Linked DNA regions of Homo sapiens: region 2 is linked to region 1. Evidence: promoter capture Hi-C in human tissues and cell types (Jung and others, 2019). All regions are on one chromosome and are shown on one strand. Each heading gives the region's core, a stretch centred on a gene start or on the middle of the fragment in contact. The rest is flanking DNA. Distances are from core to core; before and after follow the strand shown.

What was found. Contacts are between HindIII fragments. The study calls those that stand out against the background at their distance.
Region 2: a fragment that was not itself captured here is called in contact with the fragment with the promoter of RHEBL1 in region 1 in 1 of the 25 tissues and cell types used here (spleen).

What each region holds. Positions count from the first base shown.
Region 1 is chr12:49,068,458-49,071,444 of GRCh38, forward strand. It overlaps RHEBL1 (RHEB like 1), which reads right to left and starts at 1,522. Exons shown (of 8, transcript NM_144593.3): 1 at 1,277-1,522; 2 at 578-649. The coding sequence starts at 1,328. RefSeq lists enhancers at 1,236-1,545, 1,916-1,965 and a silencer at 1,566-1,685. The HindIII fragment of the contact is 9,146 bases long and covers 1-2,987 here.
Region 2 is chr12:49,316,299-49,319,334 of GRCh38, forward strand. All of the region lies in intron 2 of TROAP-AS1 (TROAP and PRPH antisense RNA 1), which reads right to left. Among named protein-coding and RNA genes, the nearest start is that of TROAP, 5.4 kb to the right of the region's middle. The HindIII fragment of the contact is 5,248 bases long and covers 1-3,036 here.

The sequences.
Region 1 (2,987 bases), core at 272-2,771:
GACAGTCTCACCCTGACACCCAGGCTGGTGTGCAGTGGCACGACCTTGGCTCACTGCCACTTTTGCCTCCTGGGTTCAAGCGATTCTCCTACCTCAGTCTCCTTTGTAGCTGGGATTACAGGCGTGCGCCACCATGCCCAGCTAATTTTGGTATTTTTAGTAGAGATGAGGTTTCACCATGTTGGCCAGGTTGGTCTCGAAATCCAGACCTCAATCCATCCGCCCGCCTCAGCTTCCCAAAGTGCTGGGATTACAGGCATGAGCCACTGCGCCCAGCCTCCCCTTACATTCTTAACCTTGGGGGTGACACAGATAGATCAGCTCCAGGGAGTTATCCAGGTAACTGGAAAGACACGCTAAGGTTCTTAATGTCTACATCTAAACTATCCCAGACTCAATATCTTGCAAAATCCATACTCTAGCCATCCATCGAACAGGATTGCTAAAGAAGAAATCAGATGTAATGTCTAAATAAATCAGCCCCTTGGCACCAGAGAAATAAATTATGGAGTTGGGTGGGGTATCCAAGCCCTCCGGGTCGCATACCACCAGCACACTAGGGGAGAAGTCTACTCACTATTCTCCACTGTAGGATCGTAGCCTTCCGAGAACTCGCCTTCCACAAATTGATGTGCCAAAGATGTCTTCCCTGTGGGGAGCAGTGTGACAGTTGTATCCAAATCATCCATCCACATTCACATCCTCTGTCCTTTCGGACTGTGGCCCAGGACCAAAGGAGACCCCAAATTAACACCACAGTCTGTGAGTGCCTCAAGCAATGCTATCCTTTGTGTCTACCCTCACCCTCTTTTCACCCAGGGTCTCCGCACTTTGGCTACCGGATGCATTCAGAAGCGCAGCAGGAAGCCTTTCCCGCCGCCTTCCCCACCCCATCCCACTCGTAGGAAGATCCAAGATTCCCTAGGATCAAGTCCGCCCCGCCCCAGGACACCTGCGACTATCTGTCCCCACGGAGACCGCGTCCCGGTTTTCAAATTGTGACCCCACCCCTATCCCCAAAGTAACGCTGGGACCACTCTGAGATTCCCGCAGCCAGGTCCGCATTAACCCTTAAGTGCTCCCGCTTCCTGCAGCCTCCACACACCACCAACTCTTCCAATCCTCCACTCTTCCATTCCTCCACTCTTCCAATCCTCGCTCTACAACCCCATCCTTACGATGTCATCATTCCTCCCTGGGTCGCGTTCCCACGGCAGCGCGCCTCTTCTGGCTACAAAGCTGCTGCGCGTCCGAGCTCTGCAGGGCGGAGACTCACCTACACAGCGGTATCCGAGGATGACCACCTTCCTGTAGCGGACTAGCGGCATGGCAGGAGCCCGCCCCAGGGGCTTGCGGAACTGCGGGCTCAGAGAGCCCGAAAACGAGGTCAGGGTGTGAGCAGGCGCGGCAGCTGGTGCAGGAAAGTCGCTCACCCCGAAGCTGCCGTGGGCAAGTTAGAAGGAAACCAAAACAAGCGCCGCGCCCGGAGCTGCCCACGTGATCACAACACAGCACGTCTAACGCCAGGGAGCCGGGCGCCCGGGGAACTACTGAGCCGCGCCGCGCCGGGCTCCGCCCCCCAGGCCGCTCGCCATTGGTCCATTAGAATGGGTAAGGGCGGTGCCGCCAGCAGGAGGGAAGGGTGGGCCTCACGTGGAGCGGGAGAACTGGGAGCTGCGCGTGCGCAGACTGGAGCCGGTTCATTCATAAAGAAACAGAAAGGAACCCGGGGTCCTAAAGGCGTTTGCGCATTTACAGCCTAGCTGAAGTGGCTTCGAAGAATTATGGATGGAAAATACCCGTTTTGTGGTTTCCGGTCATAAGATTCTAGCCCTCCCTTTTGCATGGTCTCTGGGGTCCTTAGATAGGGAGAAAACCGCCAAAGTTCTAGTATATTCCTTCTGCTTCCCCCAGCCTTCAGCCCCAGACCTATCAAGGTTTCCAGTCTTCCAGCATCTAATTTCAAACTGCAATTCTTATTCTTGCAGAAATTGCTAGAATTTATGATCAAGTAGTCTGAGGTTTCTTCTTCATCATCATGATCCTCAAATATTCATTTTTCAACAAATACTGAGTATATACTACATGTTTCAGGCATTGCTCCAGCTTTGGGGTCAGAACATGGACATCACAGACAATGTGTCTGCTCTTATGAAGGGAGAAACAAACATACAACAAGGAAATATCAGAGAGTGTTAAGTGCTGTAGAAGATGGTGTGATGAAAGATGACCACTTTATTTTTTTTATTTTTTTATTTTTATTTTTATTTTTTTTGAGACGGAATCTCGCTCTTTCTACCAGGCCGGAGGGCAGTGGCTCTATCTCGGCTCACTGCAAGCTCCGCCTCCCGGGTTCACGCCATTTTCCTGCCTCAGCCTCCAGAGTAGCTGGGACTACAGGCGCCCGCCACCGCGCCCGGCTAATTTTTTGTATTTTTAGTAGAGACGGGGTTTCACCGTGTTAGCCAGCATGGCCTCCATCTCCTGACCTCGTGATCCGCCCGCCTCGGCCTCCCAAAGTGATGGGATTACAGGCGTGAGCCACCGCGCCCGGCCGACCACTTTATTTTTTAAAGACAATACAGCATTTTTAATTTTTTTTCTTTATTTATTTTGAGACAGGGTTATGAGACTGGCTAATTTTTGTATTTTGGGGAGAGATGGGGTTTTGCTATGTTGCCCAGGCTGGTCTCGAACGCCTAGCCTCAAGTGATCCACCTGACCCGGCCTCCCAAAGTGCTGGGATTACAGACGTGAGCCACCGAGCCTGGCTGAGATGACCACTTTAGTGATACTTTCTCTCATAGGAAACCCCATTTAAACTAAGATCTGAAGGAACCAACTAGGAGATTTCACAAGAAGAATCCACCAATGCTAAGGCGTTAAGATGGAAATAAATTGGGTAAATTCCAGGAAGAGGGGAAGAAAAAAAGAAAGCCAGTTAGCCTAAAGCAGATGAAGTCTAAGAGAATGGCAGAGGCCAGGCC
Region 2 (3,036 bases), core at 468-2,967, 250 kb after region 1:
AGGAGATCGAGACCATCCTGGCTAATGTGGTGAAACCCTGTCTCTACTAAAAATACAAAAAATTAGCCAGGCGTGGTGGCGGGCGCCTGTAGTCCCAGCTACTTGGGAGGCTGAGGCAGGAGAATGGCGTGAACCCGGGAGGCGGAGGTTGCAGTAAGCCGAGATTGTGCCACTGCACTCCAGCCTGGGCGACAGAGCAAGACTCCGTCTCAAAAAAAAAAAAAAAAAAAAACAAACAAACAAAACAAGAATAACAAAAAATCTAACGAGGTATAAAGATTGAAGGGGAATATGTAAAACTGTTTTGTTTACAGAGGACATAATTATCTCTGTAGAAAACCTAGAAGAATCAATAGAAAAATAAGAAAAGAGTTCATTGGATAGAAAATCAATTATAAGAAAATATTTGCAATGTTTAAAGTGGATATGGGGAGCCAGATGTGGTGGCTCACGCCTGTAATCCCAGCATTTTGGGAGGCTAAGGTGGGCACATCACCTGAGGTTAGAAGTTCAAGACCACTTGGCCATCATGGTGAAACCCCGTCTCTACTAAAAATACAAAAATTATCTGGGCCTGGTGGTGCACACCTGTAGACCCAGAGACTTAGGAAGCTGAGGCAGGAGAATCACTTGAACTCACAGTGAGCCGAGATCGAGCCACTGCACTTCAGCCTGGGCGACAGACCAAGACTCAATAATAATAATAATAATAGGTTGGGCGCGGTGGCTTACGCCTGTAATCCCAACACTTTGGGAGGCCAAGGCGGGCGGATCATCTGAGGTTGGGAGTTCAAGACCAGCCTAACCAACATGGTGAAACCCCATCTCTACTAAAATACAAAAAATTAGCTGGGCATGGTGGCGCACACCTGTAGTCCCAGCTACTCGGAAGGCTGAGGCAGGAGAATTGCTTGAACCCGGGAGGTGGAAGCTGCAGTGAACCGACATCGCGCCACTGCACTCCAGCCTGGCGACAGAGCACGACTCTGTCTCAAAAAATAAATAAATAAATAAATAATAATAATAAATAAATAAATAAAGTGGATATGGGGCTGGGTGCAGTGGCTCACTCCTGTAATACCAGCACTTTAGGAGGCCGAAGCAGGCAGATCATCTGAGGTCAGGAGTTCTAAACCAGCCTGGTCAACATGGCAAAACCCCCCTCTACTAAAAAATATAAAAATTAGCCAGGCGTGGCCAGGCACCATGGCTCATGCCTGTAATCCCAGCACTTTGGGAGACTGAGGTGGGCAGTCACCTGAGGTCAGGAGTTTGAGACCAGCCTGGCCAACATGGTGAAACCCCATCTCTACTAAAAATACAAAAATTAGCCAAGCATGGTGGCGAGCACCTGTAATCTCAGCCACTCGGGAGGCTGAGGCAGGAGAATCGCTGAACCCAGGAGGCAGAGGTTTCAGTGAGCTGAGATCGGGCCACTGAACTCTAGCCTGGGAGACAGAGCAAAACTCTTCCTGAAAAAAAAAAAAAAAAAAAAGAGGTCGGGCGTGGTGGCTCACACCTCTAATCCCAGCACTTTGGGAGGCTGAGCCAGGCGGATCACGAGGTCAGGAGATCGAGACCATCCTGGCCAACATGGTGAAACCCCATCTCTACTACAAATACAAAAATTAGCTGGGCATGGTGGCAGGCACGTGTAATCCCGGCTACTCGGGAGGCTGAGGCAGGAGAATCCCTTGAACCCAGGAGGCAGGGGTTGCAGTGAGCCGAGATTGCGCCACTGCACTCCAGCCTGGTGACAGAGCAAGACTCAGTCTCAAAAAAAAAAAAAGAAGAAGAAGAAAAGAAAATTAGCCAGGCGTGGTGGTGCGTGTCTGTAATCCCAGCTACTTGGGAGGCTGATGCAGGAGAATCACTTGAACCCAGGAGGTAGAGGTTTCAGTGAGCCGACATCAGGCCCCTGTACTCCAGTATGGGTGACAGAGCAAGACTCCATCTCAAAAAGTAATAATAAATAAAATAAAATAAAATAATTTTTAAAAAAGTGAATGTGGGATTAATATTCATAATATAGTGTAATCTTATGAAGGAACAAAAGTAAAGACAGGAATCCAAAATAAAAAAAGCACAAAGGATATGAATAGGCATTTCAGAGAGAAGGAAGCTTTATTGGCTAACAAGAATATGAAATAGCCAGGCGCAGTGGCTCACACCTGTAATCCCAGCACTTTGGGAGGCCAAGGTGGGTGGATCACCTGAGGTCAGGAGTTGGAAACCAGCCTGGCCAACATGGCGAAACCCTGTCTCTATGAAAAATACAAAAATTAGCCAGGGATGGTTGTGGGTGCCTGTAATCCCAGCTACTAGGGGGGCTGAGGCAGGAGGATCGCTTGAACTTGGGAGGCTGACGTTGCAGTGAGCCAAGATCGTGCCACTGCACTCCAGCCTTGGTAACAGAGTGAGACTCCATCTCAAGAAAAAAAAAAAAGAATATGAAGTAACACTCAAACTCACTAGTAATCAGAGAAATGTAATTTTAAATAACTGAGAGTACACTTAATATACCTATTAGAATTGCAAATATTAGAGAGTTGTATAATATTACGTGTTGGAAAGGGTATGAGGTAATAAGAACTTTCAGTAATGATGTTGAGACTGTAAACAGCTACAGACCTGGGTTTTCTTGCTTGGTTTTGTTTTTCAGGGTTTTTTTTAGAGTGTCTCACTGTTATCAAAGCTGGCTTCAAACTCCTGAGCTCAGGCAATCCTCCTACCTCAGCCTTCTAAGAAGCTGGGACTACAAGTGTGTGCCATGCCCGGTTTACAGCTACAGATTTTCTGAAAAATAATCTGGTGCTACTTAGTAAAATTGAGCATGCATATACCTTACCACAGAAATTCCACTCCGAGGAATATGTTCCAGAGAAATTCTTGAACTGGTTCACAGGGGACTATGAAAGAGATAACTGTCTGGCATTGTGTGTAGAAGTCAGGAATGGGTAAGTAAAGTATAATGGATGCCTACCATGGAATCCTATGTAGCAGGTATAAGCAATGAATTAGATTATATGTAGTAAT